4 separate regions of the Homo sapiens genome follow, and all the other regions are linked to region 2. The links are contacts of gene promoters, found by promoter capture Hi-C in blood cells and fetal thymus (Javierre and others, 2016). All regions are on one chromosome and are shown on one strand. Each heading gives the region's core, a stretch centred on a gene start or on the middle of the fragment in contact. The rest is flanking DNA. Distances are from core to core; before and after follow the strand shown.

What was found. The method cuts DNA at HindIII sites, captures the fragments that hold promoters and counts their contacts. A CHiCAGO score of 5 or more calls a contact.
Region 1: a contact is called between a fragment that was not itself captured here and the fragment with the promoter of PCBP3-AS1 in region 2, in 1 of 17 cell types (naive CD4 T cells). The highest score is 5.6, in naive CD4 T cells.
Region 3: a contact is called between a fragment that was not itself captured here and the fragment with the promoter of PCBP3-AS1 in region 2, in 3 of 17 cell types (naive CD4 T cells, naive CD8 T cells and total CD8 T cells). The highest score is 6.3, in naive CD4 T cells.
Region 4: the fragment with the promoter of SLC19A1 here is called in contact with the fragment with the promoter of PCBP3-AS1 in region 2 in 16 of 17 cell types (naive CD4 T cells, fetal thymus, naive CD8 T cells and 13 more); the score reaches 25.7 in naive CD4 T cells.

Annotation. Positions count from the first base shown.
Region 1 is chr21:45,557,452-45,562,507 of GRCh38, reverse strand. It overlaps a transcript of SLC19A1 not described here. Among named protein-coding and RNA genes, the nearest start is that of SLC19A1, 18 kb to the right of the region's middle. RefSeq lists an enhancer at 1,454-2,163. The HindIII fragment of the contact is 9,158 bases long and covers 1-5,056 here.
Region 2 is chr21:45,833,316-45,840,817 of GRCh38, reverse strand. PCBP3-AS1 (PCBP3 antisense RNA 1) reads left to right here and starts at 4,399. Exons shown (of 3, transcript NR_038876.1): 1 at 4,399-4,532. The region is part of intron 4 of PCBP3 (poly(rC) binding protein 3); the gene reads right to left. RefSeq lists enhancers at 3,172-3,715, 4,786-5,293. The HindIII fragment of the contact is 12,994 bases long and covers 1,394-7,502 here.
Region 3 is chr21:45,457,228-45,461,207 of GRCh38, reverse strand. All of the region lies in intron 2 of COL18A1 (collagen type XVIII alpha 1 chain), which reads right to left. Among named protein-coding and RNA genes, the nearest start is that of MIR6815, 19 kb to the left of the region's middle. The HindIII fragment of the contact is 1,665 bases long and covers 418-2,082 here.
Region 4 is chr21:45,539,896-45,546,626 of GRCh38, reverse strand. It overlaps SLC19A1 (solute carrier family 19 member 1), which reads left to right and starts at 4,187. Exons shown (of 6, transcript NM_194255.4): 1 at 4,187-4,259. RefSeq lists silencers at 3,914-3,993, 4,034-4,343, 4,694-4,753 and an enhancer at 3,547-4,059. The HindIII fragment of the contact is 3,738 bases long and covers 1,180-4,917 here.

The sequences.
Region 1 (5,056 bases), core at 216-2,715, 280 kb after region 2:
GGCTCTGAAAACATTTTGCTTCACATATTTGCCTGTTTTTTTCAGTTGTTTCATGGGGGAGAGTGAGTCTAGGTTCTGTTCCTCCCAGGCTGTTAGTGGAAGTTTTCAGAACTGGCCTTTTGAAAAACTTCCCAGAGACAGTCACAAATGTTCCGTAGTCACTGGGGCTTCCCTTTACGATGCCGATGTGGTGAATGCGTGTGGTGTCGTGTCAGTGTGATGCACCTGTGTGGTGAGTGTTGTCTGTGTATCATTTTCCACAAACATAGATTTTGGTTCATGCCTGAGCTCTCTGACTGATAACTGTCTTAAGATTAAAAGGAAACCCTTTGGAGTTAGTGTGCATTTCTGGATTTGTCTTTTTTTTTTTTTTTTTTTGAGACAGAGTCTTGATCTGTTGCCAGACTGGAGTGCAATGGCGCGATCTCAGCTCACTACAAACTCCGCCTCCTGGGTTCAAGTGATTCTCCTGCCTCAGCCTCCTGAATAGCTGGGATTACAGGCGCCCGCCACCATGCCCAGCTAATTTTTGTATTTTTAGTAGAGACAGGGTTTCACCATGTTGGCCAGGATTGTCTTGATCTCCTAACCTTGTGGTCTGCCCGCCTTGGCCTCTCAAAGTGTTGGGATTACAGGCGTGAGCCACTGCACCCAGCCTGGAAGTCTTATCTTTCTTTGCTGTGCAGGTTCCCACCTTCACTTTTTATTTAATTTTTTAATTATTTATTATTTATTTATTTATTTTTTGAGATGGAGTCTCGCTGTGTCCCCAAGGCTGGAGTGCAGTGTCATGATCTTGGCTCACTACAACCTCCGCCTCCTGGGTTCAAGCAATTCTCTTGTCTCAAACTCCCAAATAGCTGGGACTACAGGTGCATGCCACCACACTTGGGTAATTTTTGTATTTTTAGTAGAGACAGGGTTTCACCATGTTGACCAGGCTGGTCTCGAACTCCTAACCTCAGGTGATCTGCCCACCTCAGCCTCCCAATGTGCTGGGATTACAGGCATGAGCCACCGCGCCCGGCCTCACCCTCACTTCCAATGCAGAGTCCAGCACTTGCAGCTGGAACCCACCAGGCCAGGAGTGGGAACACCGGGAGACGCTCCGGGCCCCAGACCTACCATATTTAATCCTGGCTGCACAAACGCAACATGTTCTAACTTGAAAGAGGTTCATTTATTACAAGTGAATGGCATGGCAAGTTACTGCAATAGAATACTCAAATATTTATTTTATACTTGGTCAATTATTTCTAGCACATCTTTTAGGGTCATTGCTCGTTCCTGTTTTACTTTGGTTGTGCTTGTCTGAAGGCATTTGCCCCCAGCTGGGTGTTGTTCAGACCTCTTGCCTCTCTTGTCTTCTCAACAAGACTCGGTGACATTTGCTCTCTCCAAGTGCACGGCAGCAGAAAATACTGTGGTTCGCAAGGCAGGGAAAGTGGATTAGGCTTGGTCGTTTATTCTCGTTCTTTCCTTCTTCCTTTGCACATGGGTGGCTGGGAAGCAGCTTCGTTTCTAAGGGCAGGGAATGACCACAGCAGTTGTAAGAGCAGCAGCTGAGGCTGAGCCAGGCCATGAGCATTCCCTCCGCCAGCCGTGAGAGCGCCTCTTTATCATGGAGAAAGCAGCATCAGAGAGGCCAGCTCAGAGGACAGCGCCGATTCTCCGGGGCTCGGGCCTCCCTCAGCTCCAAGCCTGGGTGCTGCTCTTCTTGTTTGTCTGTTTGGCCTCAGCCCAGCATTGGGTTCGTCCTCCTCATTGGCACTTGGCCACTGTTGTCACCACTCCGCAAGGCACCTCACCTTTGTCATTCCTCTTCTTGGTCCTTCAAATCCTCATTCCCAACTCCAACCTCCGCTCCCCTGCCCCGCCGTGTGCGGCCGTCCTTGCTGGTGTTGTCTCTTCCCTCCTGTTCTGGAGGAGTGTGTGTCTCTTTGTTTGGACTCTGATTTCGCTTCCTACCATGGTGCCAGTGCCACATCCCATTCCCACATGGCGTCTCCAAGACCCCTCCCTGCTGCGTGGTGGATTAGCTCCTGTGGGCGCCACCGTGGGCACCCTAGCGGGGGTGCCAGTGCCACATCCCATTCCCACATAGCGTCTCCAAGACCCCTCCCTGCTGCATGGTGGATTAGCTCCTGTGGGGGCCATAGTGGGCACCCAGTGCGCTTTGCCTGACCCTCCCAAGGTGATGGACATGGAGTGTCCCGCTCCTGCTGGCCTCATTGAGCCGTGGGCACGTCCCTGTGTGGGCCCTGTGTGGCTGTGGGAGGAGTCCTTGGGGGGTGGATCCTGGAGAGGACTTTGCCGGGCCCTGGCGTCCCCACCTCTCAGGGCCAGGCCGCTCCCCAGGAAGGCTGCACGGTTTATGCTCCATGAGTGACCCCAGGGCTCCCCTATGCCCACGTTCTAGCCACACCTGGCACGAGCCAGTTTCCTACATTTTGGGAGCTGGGGGGTGTGACGTGCTGCCTTCTGCAGAGTAAGCTGCATTTCCGACGTTTTGGCCCCTGCTGGTGGTCTGTTCACATGCGGATCCTGTCTCTGGGGCTGTGGCCGATTGCCTGAGGTTCAGCTGTGCCCACTGCCCATGTGGAGGGCTGTCTGCCCCCATCATCATCAGAAATGGATGTCACAGTAAAAATAAATCTGCTTGTCACACTGGGGGCCATTTTGACAGCAAACTCCATGTCTAGCAATTTCTCTTAAAAATACCCTGTGTGAGGGAATGATGCGCATTTGAATGACTAGTTCTTCACTGCTGTTAATAAGGAACACGGAAGCTCTGCGTGTGCTGATGTGGAACCACCTCCGAGCCAGTAAGTGAGAAAACTCGCGCACAGGTGTGGCCCCACGTCCAGAGGTCCATCCGCACGCCCCGGGCTCCAGGTTTGGCCGGATGCTCCCTGGACAGAGCTGCAAATCAGAATCCACAGGTACCTGCAGGGGCCTCAATAAAATAAAGACTGAAAAACAACTGGAAAAAAATATAAATCTTAGCAAATCTTTGCAAGTTGGAGCTGGAAGACCTGGCCTTCCCGTGGTCTCCGGAGGATGCTGCCTACCGCTGGTCCCCATGGGGGACTCGCCCACACCCCTGGCCATTTTCAGTGTGTGTGTTTGTCTCCTTGTCGGTGCGTGGTGACACCTCACCGACCTAAATACACAGATGGGGGCAATTCCCTGATGGACCCAGGACACCGACACTCACCCGGCCTCAACGTTGCGATGTTTCCACACAGCTGAGGGGCTGGCAGTTCTTCATGGTGCTTTTTGACTTAAAGATGTTTTTAGGTTGGATGCAAGCACATCTACTCATCTTTTCCTTTGTGATTTCTGCCACTGACATTCCCAAATTTATGTAGTTATTGACTTCCACATGAAAATTCAATTTAGGCCAGGCACGGTGGCTCATGCCTGTAATCCCAGCACTTTGGATGGCTGAGGTGGATGGATCACGAGGTCAAGAGATCGAGACCATCCTGGCCAACATGGTGAAACCCCGTCTCTACTAAAAATACAAAAATTAGCTGGGCGTGGTGGTGTGCACCTGTAATCCCAGCTACTTGGGAGGCTGAGGCAGGAGAATCGCTTGAACCTGGGAGGCAGAGGTTGTAGTCAGCTGAGATTGCAGCATTGCACTCCAGCCTGGGGACCTAGCCAGACTCCACCTCAAAAAAAAAAAAAAGAAAAAAGAAAAAGAAAATTCAATTTAACTGAAATGTGTTTCCCTGTGTGCTGAGAAATTGGAACACAGCTCCACCTTGTTCCAAGCAACCAGGTGGCCGTACTCTGTCCTGCCCTGGCAACAAGGCTGCCCCGACTCCCTCAGATTCCCAGCCGCAGGGCTTCCTGTAGCAGCTCCGCTCCCTACCTGTGCCTGCCCTCGCTCAAACCAAACGCAGTCCTCTCACACATTTATTTCTGGGGCTGAACTCAAGTCACACTGGCCACATACGAAGAAGAAACACCCTCTGCAGCCTGGTCACAGCCCCACCTGCTGCATCCCTGGGAAGATCCCCAAGGCTCGCCGGCCAGCACCCCTTCTGCGGCACCACTGCCTTCCCGGGTTCTCAGGGGGTCTCACTGCAGTGACAATGGGGCGAATCCTTCAAAGATTGAAGGGCCCACTGGGGATTTCTCAGCAGCCAGAGCTGCAGGCCCACACCCTGGGGCCAGGCTGCAGAGCCAGCATGTCCGAGTCCCAGCTGAGGTCCAGCCAGCCGTGGCCCACCTGGACTTGGGGGGTCTCAGCCTGTCGTCTTGGATGGTGGGTGTCATGCACTTGTCTGGCCTGATCTGTCACCAGCCGTGTGGAGTCCGACTAGAGAGCCTTGGCCCCGAAGGGTTTTCAGAAGCCGCCTCCAGTCTCTCGTCAGCACGGGACGTGCTAACCACTGAGCCCAGGCTTGGAGACGATGCCGCCGCTGTCTGAATATGGAGCCACTCGGCACAGACTGCCTTGGATGGCATGACTCTAAAAATATCCCCAAATAGGTGGCCTCCTGGTCATGCCCTCCGAAGAATGGAGCTCATGTCTAAACAGGAATGATTCCGTCAGACACGCAGGAGGCAAAGGTGAGCATCACACTATCACTCCCCACGCCACTGGGCTCAGGAGGCCAAGTCCGAGTGCCGAGGGCACGGCCACCCCCACACCTGCTTCCCCTCCGCAACTGTCTGGGCTGCGTCTGTGCTGTTAGTTGAGCAGAGGGCTCAGCCTGAGCCGGGACAAGCTCCTCACTAGCATCCCCGAGAGTCACCAGAGCGCAGGACACGGTCCAAGAGAGGCACACTGTCTGAGTGTGGTGGAGGGTTGAGGCTCCCCGGGAGCCTCAGAGCATCCCTTCTGCTCAATTCAGGGCAGTGAGTGGCCTTGGTTTGGGCCCCTGCACCCTGGTCCTGGTCACTGCACAAACCCCCAGCCCTCGCTCCTCTGCTCTGGCCATGAACCACTGCAGGGCTGTGGCTGGAGCAGGACACTCCAGGCGGACACTCACATGCCAGCAGCCTCCGGGCCCAACCGTCTCTGTGACAGAGACTACCAGCA
Region 2 (7,502 bases), core at 3,150-5,649:
TGTAGGGAGACCTCAGCGCTACAAAAAAATTTAAAATTAGCCAGGCATGGTGGCACATGCCAGCTATTCAGGAAGCTAAGGTGGGAAGACCACTTGAGCTCAGGAGGTCAAGGCTGCAGTGAGCCGATAATAAAATGGCACACCTGTCTAGGGCACTTATTATGAATGGAGCTCACAGGACTGGAAGTTGCTCTGGTGAGTCCATGAGTGAGTGGTGAGTAAATATGAAGGCTTGGGACAGGATGACTACTGTAGACTTTAGAGATACTGTACACTTAAGTTATCCTAATTTTATGAAAATATTTTTCTTTCTTCAATAAATTAAATTAGTTTACTGTAACTTTTTTTTTTTTTTTTTTTTGAGACAGGGTCCCGCTCTGTCACCCAGGCTGGAGTGCAGTGGCGCAATCTCAGCTCACTGCGAGCTCCGCCTCCCGGGTTCACACCATTCTCCTGCCTCAGCCTCCTGAGTAGCTGGGACTACAGGCGCCCGCCACCATGCCTGGCTAATTTTTTAAAATTTTTTTTTAGTAGAGACAGGGTTTCACCATGTTAGCCACGATGGTCTTGATCTCCTGACCTTGTGATCTGCCCACCTCGGCCTCCCAAAGTGCTGGGATTACAGGAGTGAGCCACCGTGCCCAGCCTACTGTAACATTTTTACTCTATAAACTTTTAAATTTTTTTATAGTACTTAGCTTAAAACACACACACACAAATTGTACAGCACCACAAAATATTTTCTTTATATCTTTATTTTATAAGCTTCTTTCTATTCTTAAAATTGTTATACTTTTATTTTTAAACTTTTGGTTGAAAACTAAGACACAGGGGTAGGCGTGGTGGCTCATGTCTGTAATCCCAGCACTTTGGGAGGCCGAGGCAGGTGGATCACTTGAGGTCAGGAGTTTGAGACCAGGCTGACCAACATGGTGAAACCCCGTCTCTACTGAAAGTACAAAAATTAGCCAGGTGTGGTGGCGGGCGCCTGCAATCCCAGCTACTCGGGAGGCTGAGGCAGGAGAACTGCTTGAACCTGGGAAGCGGAGGCTGCAGTGAGCCGAGTTCGTACCACTGCCCTCCAGCCTGGGCAACAAAGTGAGAGAGACTCCATCTCAAAAACAACAACAACAACACTAAGACATAAACACACACATTAGCGTAGGCCTATACACAGTCAGAATCACCATGGCGTAAAGCAACATATTTAAGATACTAAAGAGAAAAATGTGAACCAAGGATTTTATGAAGCCAAATTACCTTTCTCCTGTGAAGGCTACAGATAAAAAGATATGACTCCACAAGAACACAGGAAATATTTTTCTGATGAGCCCATCCTGAAGAACATAATATAAAATGGGGTTGGGCCAACCACGAAATAATTGGAGAAGCTTTGTCATAAGGTATGGTGGTAAGTGTCAAACACATTTAACTACTGAACTAGGACTAAATGATGGAGTTAAGGGTGACAGGATAATATGTAACCATTAAATGTGCTTAAAATAAAGTTAATACACTAATGAAATGGGAGGAAGAGGTGGGAGAACAAACAAAAATTAGGAGTGGGAGAGGAGGAAGAAGAGACTTCTGGCTAATTTTAATACTGCTTATAACAGTAAGTCAATAGAAATTATGTAAAAAGAGGGGTTTATGTGAATTATATAGAGAGTGATAATATAAAGCCAAGAAAAAAAATACAAACCTTCCTAAAAGTGAAAAGAAATATGAACATGGAGGAAAAGTTTACTAAGTTGAAGAATTCATGTATGCACACATTTGTTCATGTTTTCGAAAAGAAAAAATGGAAAGATTAAAAAACTTAAAAGCTACTTACAGGAGAAGGAAGGGAACTGAATGGAGAGAAAGGGAGGAAAGTGAGACTTTTGTGAATAGCCCTTGCAATAATTTTGACTTTAGAATCATGTAAATGTTTGTATTTTACATAATCAAATGCAGGAATTTCAGTTGAAGCTATAACCACAGAGAGAAGGACTGTAGGCACTGACCTTAAAACACAGGAATCTGACTGCATATCCTCAAGGGAATATATTATACAGACAGAAAAAAGTGCAAAGAAATATATTGCTCTAAATTTAGTCATTAATCATAATATTGGTATTATTCTCCAAACCTGTTATATATTTACTTAGGCTAAAACAAATAAGTAATCATGGTAATGATGAGAGAAAAGAAAAACTAGTATAAGTTTTAAATTTTTAAGTTAAAATAATGTAATCTTAAATATGATTTAAAAATATTTATCTTAATTTTCTCTTCTTTTAAAATTACAAACATTTCTTATTTCTGTTCACTAAATTATAAAAAATCAATGACAACCCAATTGCAATAAGCACTCCTAATACTCACGCTGTGGTCTCTAAATACTACTTCCCAAATAGTATTATTATTATTATTATTAGAACAAAAACAGGTCTCCCAAAAGAGTTTGATTCCAGGTGGTCTGTGGAAGAAAATATAAAAGGTAAGGTGGGAACACATACGACAGAAGGCAATAAAGCCATCCAAGACTGATGTGGTTACATCAGAAAGCGAGGGGAGCCCAAAAACTACAGAACAGTTTGAGTAAAGAAATGGCAGCTGCACTGGCCAAACTCCACTGTGTGTATAACATCCACCAGTTAACAATGATGCTTCACAGGGAGAGAAAAGCAGGGAAAGACACAAATTCACAGGACAACACTGGGGCTTCCAGAAACCAACTCATCGCAGTGAGAACAACTGAGTGCAAAGAATGAAGCATCTATCCTGCCTTTCTGGCATGAACCATAGTTTAGGTAACCAAACAGCCCTAGTGGATGAGGCAAACGTTATTCCACATAGATGAATCCCAACTAATAAGTACAGAAAGAACAACACAATTAGAAAATCACCGTTCTGCAGCCCCTAATGTGTACTGCATCCAGGCAATGACCATCAATGAATATTGACAGCAAGCTGCAAGGCTGGTGGGGAACCCAGCAGTGGCGGATCAGGCTGACCCCCTAAGCTCAATCCTCAGTCTCAGCACCAGTGAAGGAGCGGCCAGACCACACGCCTCATCATGCCATGCGGTGCAACGTGCAGTGCCACCTAGGAAGCTCGCTCGCCTCACAGGAAAAATAAATCTGAGTGGAATCGCACCTCAGACCTACCAGGGCAAATATGGGGTTGCAGGTGGGCTCTGCACCATGCCAGAGGAGGCAGCCAGCCAAATCCAGAACGCAGGCATTCCACACAGCCGCTACCCCCAAGAGGCAGACAACCCAGGGCTACAGGTAGGCCTTCGACATGAAACCGCCCGCAGGAGAATTTCCACAGGCACGTAGCCATGCCCTATAACCTGAAGCTAGGGCGCCGTGGCCTGTTCTCACAGCGCCATCCCTAGGCTCCAAGAGCCAGCATCCTGGGAGCTCTGCAGCGCTGTGCTGCTGCCTGTGGCTTGCACACAGATGTCACATAACATCATTTCCGCTGGAGGCACATGCCTGCCCAGATTAAAGGGAGGGTCACGATCCCCTCCCTGGCGGGAGGTGCATCAAAGTCACAGCACAAGAGCATGTGGAACGGGAGATACAGACCACAGTGAAACGTTATTTACATTCACTGCATTGGCAAACATTCAGAATGTTGGTGGACTGTAGATCATCCGTGGCGCTAACACGCTGCTGGGGGATGGGAATTGGTACCCGCGCTTTGAAACAAAAACTGACATGGTCCTGAAAGTTCCTGAAAGTTCACCTTTCACAGACTTTATGATGCAGCAATTCCACTTCCTTAAACCAAAAACACCTCATGTGTGCACCAAAAGAAACACACAGGAATGTCCACGGAAGCATCACTCACAATGGCAAGCGAGCCGCATGACCCTGCTGGAAAAACAAATAAATGATGCCTATTCACACACTGGAACACTATGCAGCCAGGCACACAAACTGCAGCTCTGCCCAGAAACACATACCAACCTAAGACACCTTGTGTGTGACTAAACAGAACAGGTTTGGGAAGTCTATGTAGGGACTGATGTCACTTTCTAAGAGTTCAGAAACAAGCAATCATGTGTAATAAAATAAAATTATTTTAAAGAGAAGAGATGAGAAAACAAAATGCAGGATCACGGTAAAGAAGAGGAAGCACCCACGGCAGCATGGGTCATCTCGCTTAGCCTGGTCCTGGGGTCACGGCTGTTCATGAGAAAGCTATGCTCCGCAGCTCACGTTACGTACGTGTCATATGCTAATTCTCATGTCACAACATTTTAACGAATATACTGGGAAGTGCAGCCAAGTACTGCAAGCAGAGGAGCCGGCACACGTGATCCCAGACCAGGCAGCACTTACAAAGGATGGCAGGAAGGCCAAGACGTTGTCACGGAGATGAGGCCCAGCAGGGCAGGAAGGCATGACCAGCAGGCCTGGCTACAGGCAGCAAGCACCAAACCCCATTCCAGATGCCAGGAAAGGCACACACAGGCCTGGCGCAGGTGGGCTGTCTTCTGGCCGCTCCCTGGGTGGACTGGTCTTGGAGACTGGACGGTAAGGACTGGGGAGAGTCAGGGTCCACTTTGGAGGCAGAATTGGGAGGGTTTGAATCAGATGAGTAAGGAGGTACCAGGAAGGGGTCCAAGGTTCCTTCTGTTTGTATCCCCCACAGGTCTGCTGACATCGGCCCCCAGAGAGGGGCAACCCACGGCCAGGAAAGCAGACCAGGCAGCCCCTCTGTAAGGCTGAAGGAGGAGCTACTGTGGGTGGCCTGGACTCCTTGTCATCTCGGGCCCCACGTTGCCCCTCTGGTGATCAAGGACTCACAAACTTCTTGCTCATATTCTGAAAGATGGGCAGCTTTTTGTTTGGTGAGGTTACCATGCCTGCGGCCACAGCTTCCCCTGTGGAACTGAGATCCAGACCCCGCCAGGCCTGGGGCCTGTTCCCCTGGGGCTGCCGTGACACTGGCTTTCTGCGCTCTCCTCTCCCCAGGGCATAAGGCCCAGACCTCCTGCGGGTCAAGCTCAAGACCCTGGGCCCAGGGTCTGCCTGTCCCTGGCCCAAGCTGGCAGGTGTGGCCTGGATGAAAATGGCTCAGGAGAAGCTGATCTGCTATGCAGCCTAGTCTGCCAGAGCCAGGGTCCAGGCCCATGGGCAGCTCACAGGGATGTGGGGCCACGCCCAGGCTCTGTCTTCCTCACGCAGGGGCCATGTGGCAGGACAGGCCCAGCACACCATGTGAGTGCCCAGAATGCTGAGGCATATTAGGTTTGAACCCTGGAACTGTGTTTCTGCCTCTCTGACCTCTCAGATGCACAGGGACTTGCAGAGGGGCTCCTTAAGGTGCTCCAGGTCAGTGCCGGCTGCGGCCAGGAGCTGACGGCCGGCAGGGAGGTGTAGAGACCCGGGGCCAGTGTTAAAGGTGCTACGGCCACTTGGCTTTGCTGTGACCCCCGTGCACAGGAGCACCAGACTCCTCTCTGCCAACAGGCCACAGAGCAGCTCCGGTGCTGCTAAGCCTCCGGAGTGGGGCGAGTCTTGTGCAGGAGGCTCCCAGGCAGGTCCCGGGGCATGAAGTTTAAACAGGCCCCACCCACACTCCTGGGAGCCTGTGTAGGCCCCGCCCCCGGGGCCCAGGGCAGACGTGGGCTATTCTCTGTCTTGGCTCCCCTCATCTGGCTCTCACCTCAGGAAAAGATGTACCTAACTCCTATGATTCCTACATCCTCATAAATGAACCCACAGGAACCTGTGGCTCTGTGAGTGGGGAGCAGCCCCCGTGTCAGCAGAGGCTGCTGCGGCGTTCGCGAACCGGCCTCCCAAGCTGCCCGCGTCATTCAGTGGCGCTGCCCACCCCGAGCACGGGTGGACACCGCGCAGAGTGACATTTCCAGCAGCGCTTTGAGGGACTCACGGTGCCTCCCCATTCCTGCTGCCGCAGGCCTCCCGAGCTGGGTTGTGCACTCAGCGCTCAGAAGTGGGCATTCCTGGGCTCTGCCGAAAAGCGTGCCAGGTGAACTCGGAACTCACCTGCTGCTCTCCTCTAGAGGCAGCTCCGAAGTCTGCTTTGTCCTTTTAAAAACCTTTCATACCACCTCCCTCGTGGGCCCCCTCTGAGAGACGCCTCTGATTTTTCAGTGGTGCTTCCTTTGGAGTCTATTGGCCTACTTCCATCTGCACGCCATCTCACAGGTGCTGCTGCCTCTGAGGCGCTGGGCTGCACCCTCACAGTGCAGCACTCGTGGACGTGGTGGCCTGGGGAGAGCAGGGCTGTGGCCGTCTTCTGTTGTGAGGCCAGCACGAGGACCTCTTTGGCGGGCACGGGGACAAGCTATGCTGGGCAGTGGCGAGGAGGCAGCTGGCCCCTCCCAAAGCACAAGCTGCATGGGGACGCCACCCCTAGACAGTCACAGCACATGCTGTGCCTTGGAAATGGACATCCTAGCTAATCACAAATTTCGGTCAGCCTCTAGGAAAGCATTTAGTCATTCATTCACAACTTCCAGTCCCTGCTCTAACACGCGCCCTGGTCGGAGGGCGCTCTGACGGCTGGTGACAGGACACGACACTGCCAGGAAAAGAAGCTGCCAGCCGGGCTCCAGGCACTGTGCGGCATCTTCCTGAGAGGCCTGCTTGGCCTGGCCTTGCTTGGAGTCTGGGCCCTTGACAACTTCCACGTAGACCCAGACTCCTGGGCCCCGTGGACTCGTGAATCGGTGGCAGTCTCAGCCTGTGGGGGTGCTGGCCAGCCCAGCTCCTCCCTTCCCTACCCAGGACATGTCCTGGCTCAGCCCCCAGCCTTCCCTGTGCTTGGCTTTCCTTCTGGTGACCAGATAACATCCACGCCATCCTCAGAGGTGGTGACAAGCACAGGTGAGTCAATCGCCAACATGGTCCAAATTTGTTTCCAACATTTAAAAAAACAGAAGATTTCATATTCAAATATGATTTTATGACTTTAAAAGGGAGTCAGGTGTTCCCTGAGCTCCTGCCCAGGCAGGCAGGACTGCAAGCTCCTCCCAGCAAGGTGGTCCCTCCGTGACCCTGCCCTGCATGGGGCCACAGCAGCCACCTGTGGTCTGCCCAGAAACAGACAATCCTTCCAGAGCTCTTAGCCCCTTAGGCCTGGCCTCTGCCACTGGCACTGGCCACTCACATTCATGGGCGCATACACTAGGCCTGGGCACCATCCAGTCGTGCTCAGGGGGGTGGCCCGTGTCTGGAATCCTGGTGAAGCAGAAACACCCTCTGTCCTGAGAAGCCCTTCTCCCCTCCTCCACCCACTCTCCTGACATGGGCAGCACCTCGGCAGTTGGCTGGAACCAGACAGTCTTTGTGAATAAGCTGCCAGGGGCCAACGTGGGAAAGTTCTGAGCCTGGCATGCACAAGTAGCATGCTGGATTTTTTAGGTTCTAAGGTTGTGCTGTTGTGAGGCCTGGGAAGCAACCCTCAGCTTGGCATTGCCTTCTTTACAGAGATGCCTGGGGGGCCACAGGCTTTCTCTCAGCTTTCCATCTGAT
Region 3 (3,980 bases), core at 1-2,500, 380 kb after region 2:
ATGTGACTGTTGGTCGAAGGGTACAAAGTTTCAGTTATGCAGGAAAAGTAAGTTCTAGAGGTCTAATGTACACATGGTGATTACAGCTAGAATACTGTATCGCATATGGCACTTCAAACTTGAGTAGATCTTAAGTTTTCTCACCACACTCACAACGGTAACTGGTTGAAGTGATAGATGTCCACTAGCTTGACCTTAGATATATACAAAAACCCAAATATACGTAAAAGGACCTGCAGGAAGCCCTGTTTGGAGTGCTGTGCTTTTCATTCTGTCTGTGCTTAGTTCAGAATCACACAAGATCTTGTACCCACAGACAACTGCACCCAATGCACTGGGCCCTTGACACTCCAGTAGGAGTTAAATGCTGAGTCACTCTTGGTGCATCTAAGAGGCATGGAGAATTTACGAGAAGCTTAGCCAGCATCATCGAAAAAATATTTGTAGGTTGCCAAGCGGTGAGAGATAAGCATGAGTTATTTCCCAGAGTGGTCTTCTCCCTTCTTAAACCAAAGTTACATGGAAACATCAAACAAATCAAAGCATTTTAAGGAGAAGGGACATTTTCTCAAATTCTGCATTTGACTAAAGGAGCAAGAGGTAAGCACCATATAAGGACACCTGTGTGCCAGTGGCTGGCCCATGGGGTAGGGAGGAGCGATGAAGGAGCAGCCCCTCGGGGCCATCATGGTGACATGACCTTCACGTGCACTCCCGTGGCCTCCCACTGACCTCCGAATGTCCAGTGATGGGGGTGGAGGCAGAGGAAGCCCCAGCCCAGGGGCCTGTGCACCACTTTCCAAGATCACGGGACTCGTGCATTTGAGATGAGCGACTTGGCCGGCGTGTGTGTGGACCTGCCTCCCGAGCACCCCGGTGGCAGCTGTGCCCAGTTGCGCCCCACTCTGTGCACAGGCACTATCCATCCCGGCACTGGTCCCTGCCCTCATCAGATGGCCTGCACCACGAGGGTGGATGCCTGCTGGTCTCCTGGTGCTCCCCGGCTGGGAGCTTGCTTGTCCTGCATCTGCTGCGATGCTGAAGAGCGCTCTGGGGCCAGGCTGCTGGGCCCTCCTCCAGGCTCCCTCCTTGCTAGCCACACTTGCGGCACGCACACGTGTCTGTCCTTCCTAGGCCTCAGTTTCTCACCTGTAAACGGGAACAATACGCAGCTCCCAGGTCAGAGGATGCTTGCCTGTAGGACTCCTTGGAAACATCACCTGCCTCCGGTCCCAGGGGCCAGGGTTTGTGAGAGCTCAGGAGGGGTGTAGAGAGCAAAGTCCAGAGGGCCAGGCACCCGTTGCTGTTGTGGGGTGACACTCCCACAGCCCTTGTGACCTGAGCTCCATGTGTCACTCACAGAGTCCCACTGAGACAGCCCAGGGGGCTTCCTGGAGGCAGTGTCCCGGGCAGCCCAAGCCCAAGCCCCGCTCGCTCACTCTTGGCAGCTGCAGCAAGGGAGCCTCCCTACCCCACCCCGGCCCTCCCGTGTGAGGGGGCCTCACTCCCTTCCTCGTGGACCTGAGGGACAAGCCCACAACACAGCAAAACCCTCCACAGGGTCCCTGCTTGTGTGCTGACCACAGGGTTCACCCTCCCTTTGAGCGCCCCCCACGCCCCAGCACGGCTGCACTGTCCCCCACACTCTCCTCGAGGTGGGCCGGCGGGGTGGACACACAGGGCAGTGCCCAGGACGAGGTGGAGGGGGCGCTGGAGATGGAGCCGGGCAGGAGGCAGCAGGACCCCTCCAGCTCCCCTCCCCTCAGGGGCACATACTCCCTGATCCCTGGAGATGCAGCCAGGGACCTCTGTGGGCCTCGAGGGCTCTGTTCTGGTGCCCGGATCACAGCCCAGCACCCCCACTTTCGGGGCCTCGAAGTCTGCCCGAGGGGTCAGGCTGGGCTCCCCCTCCTCCTCCTGCCCCTCACCCAGGGCTGGGAGTGTCCAGCCCAACATAGGGGTCCGGCAGGAGTTGGGGCTAACCCAAGAGGAGCCTGGGCTGGGGAGGAGCTGAGAGGCCAGAAGAGGGGGCAGGACCCTCCCGGCCAGGCCACACCTGGGAAGGGGCTCCTTGATAAAGCTTGAGGCCCACCCCTGGCCAGAGGCAATGCAGGCCAGGAACGCTGATGGAGTCCCCCAGGACCCTGCACGGGACACGGCCTCCCTCGCACGGGGACGCTACCAAGCTGTCCAGATGTTCAGTGAAAAGTCCCCATCAGGCTGTGCCACCGACCGGGCCAGCTGCAGTTGCAGAAATTCCTCGCCCTCACAGCCCCACTCGGACCCCAGCCCCCAAGCCATGCAGCTGTGCCCCAACTCCCAGGAGACCGGCACCTTCCCTGAGGCTGAAGCTTGCTCACAGTGCTCAGCTGATCCCAGACAGTCTCGGGCTGGCAGGGCTAGGGCAGGGTCAGGTGTGCAGGCCTGGCGTTTCCCCTCCCACAGGCTGCAGCCCTCCCAGCCCACCGCTGTCCTGTCTGCCTCCGTGGGCTTGCAGTGGAGGACAAGGTGGGCTGTGCTGGAGCCTCCCGGGGCTCCAGGACACCGGACCCGGGTCCCTCCAGTCAGTACGGCTCCTGCAAGGCTGCCCTACCCACATGCTTGGTGGGGAACAGTAGCCAGGTGGGGTGTGGCTCCGGGGGGGTTGCCTGCAAGGCGGCTGGTGCTTGCTGGGCATTTGGGTGTTCCAGGGACGGAGGATGAGTGGGACCCAGGAATCTGGCTGCTTGTGGCAGTGCCAGCTGCCCTGGGGGTGACATCTAAGCCCTGAGATGCCAACATTCGCGGGCACAGCCCCTGCCTCAGAGAGCTCCAGCCCTATGAGATGCCAACAGCCGTGGGCACGGCCCCTGCCTCAGAGAGCTCCAGCCCTACGAGATGCCAACAGCCGTGGGCACGGTCCCTGCCTGGGAGAGCTCCAGCCCTACGAGATGCCAACAGCCGCGGGCACGGCCCCTGCCTCGGAGAGCTCCAGCCCTATGCTTCTGGGGCGCATCCACAAGGGCCCCCACTCCTGCACACACCAGGCCCCCCCAGCGCAGTTCCTGTGCCCCCCTCAGGCTCAGCCAGGCCCCGCTGCAGCCCTCCCTCCCTCCCTCCCTCCCTGCCCCTCCATTCCAGCCCACGTGGGCTTTACTCCTGGGACCACCTGTTGTCAGCACTTGTCCCTGCCCTGTCTGTGGCCCCCCGGCCACTCCCCAGGCCCCACACAGGGTCTGCAGAGGCTCTGGGCTTTGCTGAGAGAAACGGTCACTGGCCTGAAACTCAAGGGGAATCACCAAGCTCGTCATCCCTCACGGAGCCTGGTGGGTGGGCGTCCACCAGAATTTCCACTGCAGGCACCCCCACCTCCAGGTCCGGCACAGCTGCTAACCCCCACCAACCCTGTCCCAAAGCCCAAAGAGCAAACAGCAAGGCTGCTTCCCCTCGGCACTATGGGGAGGACAGCAGAGGAGGACAGAGCACCTCACCCTGCGGGGATAGGGCCTCTGGGCCAAGGCTGCCAGGTGCACATAGCAAGCAGAATCTGAATGGGGCAGGCACAGCTCAGGGGCCCCGTCTACTCCCGGACACAGAGGAGGGATCTGCTGGGGTCCTTTCTGGGCTGCCCCTGCCCCCAGGAGGTTAAAGAGTCCCCCTTTCCCTCCTCTTCCTGCCCCCAACTGTCCAGCCAGCAACAAGGCCAGGCCACACGGTGATGGGGCAACGTCCCCTGGGCCCAGAAGCGGCCCCCACTGTGGCAGGGAGGCTGTGTGCTTCAGGATGGGGAGGGGGACATGAAAGGCTCCCTCTCAGGACGGGCCCTGCAGACCTCCCTGGTCCCCACGCTGGTAGGGTCTCTGCACTGCCCACGCGGCAGCACCCTTGGCCCGAGCACGCTGGGGCTCCCAGGAAGCGCATCGAACCGTGCAGCTTAGTGACCGGAGCAAGGTCGATGCAGCCACACCTGAGCGGGAATCTCGGCTCCCTGGGGTGAGTCA
Region 4 (6,731 bases), core at 2,938-5,437, 290 kb after region 2:
AGAGGTTCAAACCTCCCCCTTTCCCTAGTAAAGATGGGCTATTTAAGCATGATTTTGTGAAAGTCTGGCTATAGGGAGACTTGGGGGCATCGGGATTCAGTGTTCTGCTGCTGGGCCAGGCAGGGCTCAACTGGGAGGGGCTGGGCCTGCTAGGGCCGCTGTCCGGGGCCCCAGTGGGGCTCAGAATTCAACTCCATGCCCAGAGGACCAGGTGGGACACCCTTCCAGGGAAGAAGTGTGGCAGGCACAGGCCCAGGTTAGCCCCACTGCTGTGGGGCTGTGACAGGCTGTGAGGGACCTGCGCTCACTTGGGGGATGCGGAAGCCAGGAGCTCCGGGGCTCCAGGCAGGCCAGGGACAACGCTTCTTCCTCTGGGCTTTGCTTCTCCGCTCAGCTGCCACAGGGCTTCTGGCTTCTGGCTTCACAGACAAGGTGCTGAGGACGGTGGCCCGGCTCAGCCTCTGAGAGGATGGGGGCCACAGCTGCAGGCAGGCCTGGGCTTGGGGCTAGTGCTGGGAGGCCTGACACAGGGGCATCCATGTCAGTCCCCCTTCTCCAGACCTTTGGGCCCCTAGGCCCTTGTGATGGGCTACCCCTGGCCGCTGGGAGTGTTAGGAGGTCAGCTCGTGGAAAAAGTGGGGGCGAAGGCCTGGCGGGAGTGGGGGCTGGAGAGAGGGGCAGCTGCAGCAGAGACCCACTGGCCAGCAAGCCAGGTAAGGCATTTACAGGGCGCACCGCACCTCTACCAAGCAGATTCAGATGGGAGCAGAAGCACCTGTCATTCAGCAAGGTGAGACTGGGGAGACGTCTGGAAATGTGGGAGGAAAAACTGGCTGAGGCCATGTGCAGGCCAGTTCACTGCACATGCTGGGGCATGGCAGGCCGGTCCGCGCCCGTCTTCCTGCATATGGGGTGCCGTCTGCACGGGAGCATGCATGTGTATGTCTCTGTATCTCTGTGTCATGTGTATGTCTGTATGTTTACGTCTCTGTATCTGTGCATATGTCTTGGTGGTGTCTGTACGTGTGTGTACGTATGAGGGGGGCTGTTTTTGTGTTGCTATAAAGGAACACAGAGACTGGGTATCATAAAGAAAATAGGTGTAATTGGCTCACGGTTCTGCAGGCTGTACAGGAAGCATGGTGCCAGCATCTGCTCCTGGTGAGGCCTCAGGAAGCTTCCACACATGGTGGAAGGTGACGGGGAGCCAGCGTCACATAGCAAGAGTGGGAGGAGGGGAGGGCAAGGGGGGGGTCCCGGACTCTTTTAAACAACCTGCTCTTGAGTGAGCTAACTGAACAAGAACTCACTCATCACCAAGGTGATGGTGCTAAGCCATTCATGAGGGATCCGTCCTCATGATCCAACACCTCCCGCCAGGCCCCACTTCCAACACTGGGAATCACATTCCAACATGAGATTTGGAGGGGACAGAGAATCCAAACCACATCAGTGTGTGTGCGTGTCTGCGCATGTCTGTGTCCATCTGCATGTGCACGTCTCTGCACGTCTGCATGGATCTGTGTGTCTCTGTGCATGTGTGTCCATGTATTAGCATTTGGTCCAAGCCTTGCTTCCAGAGCCACAGCCACCACAACAGCACCAGCTGAGGGAAAGGGCTGCTCGAATGCCACTGCCTCCCTATGCTGACGGGGACCTTAACCACAGGGACAGCCCTGCGTCTCTCCAGCCAAGGCAGAGGACTGGCCGGTTGGTCTCAGAAGGCAGTGGGTGGGCAGGGTCCTCATTCTCTGGCAGAGATTTCTTGGGCCTGGACTATGGGTGCTAAGGCTGCCGGGGAGTGGGGGCCCAGGAGCTGGGGATGGGGCACTGCTGTGGGGTGGGCTGCAGAGCCCACCTGAGCCCCTCCAGGAGGGGAAGGGGTCTCTGCGGCCTGCAGCCCCCAGACATCACTGTATATGGCTGGAGCCTACAGGCTGGAGGGCCGGGATCCACACTGCTGGGCCCCTGCTGATCCCTCCAACCCAGGGCTTCTCCCAGGGACCAGCTCTCCCTGCCATCCCTGACGCTCAGGCACTTAACTATTTGACAAACCGATAATGAAACACGCAAGGACGGGGACCGCTGGAGGCTCGTGAGGGCCCAAGCACAGGATCCATTCCCAGATGCCAGTGTCACTCCCAAGTCACCTGCGTTTGTAAATCTCTATTTTGGGTGGAGCCCTCTGGAAGCCCACGCCCCACTGTCTGTGGCCACTCCTCGCAGTCCTCAATGGAGGTTTCTGTAAGTTCTTCACGAGTCTCCTGGCTCTTCCCTCAGAGCAGCTGCCTCTAGATTACAACTGCCAAGTGCTGTTGGTGGCAGAAGCCCTACCTCCCCACTCCGAAGCAGCTCCTGCAGGAAACCTGGGCCTTGTGTGGCTGGGGAACTCCCAGGACTCCTGCCACGCAGGGGGACCCGAGGGCAGCTTGGGCAGGCCCCTCGCGGCCGGGGGCGGATTCGCTCGGCTACACCTGACCGGAGAGACAGGTGAGGGACTGGTCTTTGTGGGTCCTGCGGGGTCCCCTTGGGGCTGTGGCTCCCTGCCTTGCTGTCTCCAGGCGGGAAGGGGGTGGGAGCCATCCTTCTGTGGGAAGGGGTCTAGGAGCCCCGCTGCTGTTCATCCCCACTTCCCCTCGGCTTCCTGGCCTGTCCTGCGTGTAAAGGGAGCAGGCTGCCCTGGCGAGCTGGCCCCATGGCTGGCTCCTCTCTGCCTGGAGGGAAGGAAGGGCCCCTCCTCCTCCGCGTTGCCCCTCCTGTCTTCCAGCAGGGCCAGGTTCTGCCCACCCGTGGAGAAGGCCAGTACAGGGGAGAGAGCCAGGGCTCCCACAAAGCAGGGGGTCCCTCCAGGTGAGGCGCTCCATCCTGTAGTGTTCCCTTAAATTCTGCAAGCTACCCCAGATCCCCCATTTCCAGCCAACAAATCCTTTTTAAGTTCCTTTGAGATTTGTTCGTGTGGCTTGCTACACTCAGGACTCTGGAAAGAAGGCCCAGGCCAGAGCTTTGGGCAGGCGGCCATTTAGGGCAAGGGCCCTGTGTTGGCTTCCTGGTGGGGTTGCCCTGCTGGTGGGCGGGAGACCAAGAGCACCCCCGCAACACCAGGAGGCAGGTCGCGGATTGTGCTGTCTACACTCCGGAAGGGGTACATTCCAGGGGCTGCTGCCCCAGACTCACCCCTCGCCTGGGACCCGCACTCTTGAGCTGTGGGTACCACGGTGGCCGTCCCCTTCTGTTCTGTGCAGTGGACTTCCTGGCTCCTCCTTAGCCTTGGGGCCCCCACAGCCCTCGGCTTGGCTTCCCTCCCCATAGCCAGGCCCTGGGTAACTCCAGGGGAAAGTGACCCTGAGGCCCCCCACTTCTCCCCGTGTCCTGCACAGGCCTTGGGCTTTCGGCGGTGCTGTCTGCCGCAGCCCCACGCCTTCCTGGGAGAGTGGCCCAGGCCCCCCTTCCTGAGTGTGACTGCGCTGCCGTCTGCGAGGCCTGCGCGGGTCTCCCCCGGGCTGTCCCTGCTGGGATGGGGACTGGTGGCCCCGGGCCACGTCCTGGATCCGGCTTGCTCCTTGGTACAAGCCCGTACGGGTCACGGTCAGGCAGGAGGGCGGGCGGCGGGGTCCCGGGGGCGCCGAGTTCGGGGCCGTGCGGTCCCCAAGAGCAGGCTGTGCGTGTCCCTGTTGGAGCCCCACGAAGGCGGCCCAGGGCCACCCCTGAGGGCGCGTGGGCCCGACCCGCGTCCCGGATCCAGCTTGCGGCCAGGAATGCAGGTGTTCCAGGGTGCCAAAAGGAAAACGCACAAGGCCTCGTCGAGGAGGGGGGGTCAGGAGGGGACCGGGGGTGGGAAGAACGCGGGGGAGAGGGATGGCAGGGTGCCCGCCCGAGGGACCGACACCTCCGCGAGTGGCACCCCAGGATGCTGACGCCGGCGGGGGTGGGGGCCCGAGGGGCGGTCGGGGTCAGGGGGCGGCCCCAGGGGTAGGGCCGCAGCACGAGGGGCCGCGTGACCCCGGCGGTGACCGGGTGGGGAGAGGCCGGCGCCGGGGCTGGGAGACGGCCGTGGGTGGGAGGGTGCCCCGTGGGGACGCTCCTGCCGCAGCGCCCGGCCACGCGCGAGGCCCCGCCCTCAGGACGCGTTCGGCGGGACGGACCCGCCCACCCCGCAGCCGCGCGCCCGCCGCGCCGCCTTGTGGGCGCTGTAGTCCCGGAGTCCGCGTGCGCGGGGCCGGGTCCGGGAGCCCCAGGGCAGCCGCCCCGCCGAGTCGCAGGTACCGGTGGGGAACGGGGCCACGGGGCCGCGTGTCGGGGGCTGCGGGGTGTCTCGGGGCCCTGGGGTGAGTGCGGGGCGCGGGCCGAGGTTTGCAGGGCCCTGTGAGGTGAGTGTGGGGGCTGGCGCTGGGGTCCGCGGGGCCCTGGGGAGGGTGCGGGGCGTGGGCCGGGGTCTGCGGTCTGCAGCCTGGGGTCCGCGGGGCCCTGGGGAGGGTGCGGGGCGTGGGCCGGGGTCTGCGGTCTGCAGCCTGGGGTCTGGGGGGCCCTGGGGAGGGTGCGGGGCGTGGCCGGGGTCTGCGGTCTGCAGCCTGGGGTCTGGGGGGCCCTGGGGAGGGTGCGGGGCGTGGGCCGGGGTCTCCGCGGGGGTCGCGGTGGCCCGGGCGCCTGGCAGAACCGTTGCTGTGCAGCGGGTTTCCCGCCGCTCGCTTTCCGCCGCAGCCTGCGAATGGGGTGGGGAGTCCCGGCCCCCAGCCTGCCCTCCGCGTCATCCTGGGGCGCCAAGTCCCACCCCCGGGTCTGGAGGAAAGCGTGGATCCGGCGTTCGCGCCCAGGCACGTGTTGCTTCGGGACGGGCCAGCCGGTGGGTGAACCCTGCCAGCCACGCGTGGGGCGGGCCCCTGGCACATCTCCAGACCATTGTCTCCTGTGCCAGAAGCTTTGTAGGTGCAACTTCCCCTTGGAGCAGCTGTGGGTGCGGATCCAGCGGAGCAATCCCGAGGCGTCTCAGAGAGAGCCTGGACAGCCGCTGGAGCCTTTCCCGAGTGGGTCCTTCCAACACCGCTACAGCAGGAAAGCCATCCCCCTAGGGTCCTGTCCATCGGAAACTCCTGTCCTGGGGAGTCTGGCCTGCCTGGCCTCAGGACACAGGCCAACTAAGCTGGCCCCGAAATCCAGAATGCATCCAGAGGGAAGGTGGGATAAAGTCCTTGGAGGCGCCTGTTGGCCGCCCTGTAAAGAGGTGGCCTCCCCCTACGGAGACCCGAGGATCCCCGCACAGCCCAGATTCAATCAGCAGAGCCGAGGTGCCTCTGGCCCAGTGCACCTGCCTGCCCTGTCCAGGCCTGGGAGCCAGGCTGCATCTCACTGGCCGCCTTTGCCTGGGTGCCACCTGTGCACTGCTTGTTGCAATTGCTAATTGCTTTCTTTCCGAAGGGGCTTTGGTGGATTTTTATAATTCCAGATAGTACAGTTATCTCTGCTGGACACAGATGAGAAAGAGTGCTTCTCGGGTGTTTGGGCCTGCAGCAGTGATAGCCGGAGGGTCTAATTATGCTGTTAGGAACCCTGAACTTGGTCATCTGAACAGGGGTGGGAGGGTGTGCAATGCTTTCTTCTTCTTCTTTTTAAACTAGCAGGCGTTCTAAAAAACATAACGAACATTCTTGGTTAGCCTTCCAGAGTAGGAGCTGGTTTAAACACGGAATGATAGGTGGCGTTTGCTTGTGTTTTGATTGCGGGTCTCTGGCCTTCTCTGGTGCTTGGAAGGACAGGGCCTGGGTGGGGCTGGTCACTGTGGACAGTGGGGCCGGGGATTTGCAGGGGCTGTTACAACCTTCTCCTGAAGGCAGGGATTCTCTCTGCTTCCCCGTGGCCCTCCTGTCTGGTCGGGGACTTCCTTCAGATGCCGGGAAGAGGCCTCAAGCTGTATGGGACTGGGCTGGGGTCTGGACACTTGGAGTCTAGGCGTCCCCTGGCTTGGGGCTGCGTTTCTATGATGGTGACCAAGTTCCCTATCTTTCCTCTTGGAGGTGGTCTGGGCCGTGATGGCCAAGCCTCTGTCAGTGGGCTACGTTCACGGCACATAAGTTGAGTATGCTGGCAGCAGAGGCTGACTGTTAAGACCAGCAGCAGCCCCTTGCTGGCGGAGACTCTGGCTGTCTCTCCAAGGAAGGAATGTTCTGGTCGCTTCTGGAGGTGGCACCTTTCAGAACAGGGGGCCCAAGTACCCAGGGCTCCCGGGCCCCTGGGGGTCCTGTGGGTGGGGATCTGACTCCTGCGGCCATGGACTGTGGGCGCAGACCCTGGGCTTAGTTCAGCTCCTGATGGCTCCCCGTTGTCTGCGGCGATCTGGTTGCTCTGGTTGTCTGGGGATCGGTGCGCCTGTCTAAACCTGCTGACAGGTGGGAAAGTGAACTTGACAGGGAGTCCCAGGGCCAAATGGGTCTCCCAGTGGGGAGGAGTGGGTGCGGTCTGAGGTATGTCCAGCTCTACCCGTGGCCTCTCTGGGCATCAGGGTCCCTGGTGATGGAGCCCAACCTTTGTGCACTGATCTTCCCAGCTGTTGACAGGCCCTGAGGAGGCATGGAAGGTGAGGCCGAGGCAGGCGACCGTCAGATCTGCCTCGGCCTGGCAGTGGCCCCTGCCTGCGCTTCCTCCTGCCTGGCCGGCTGTTTTCATCCTGGCCCTTTGAGAACTTCTAGGGTCCTGGCTGCCTCCAATGGAGGGTGCTGGTCCCATCTTCTTCCCAGCTG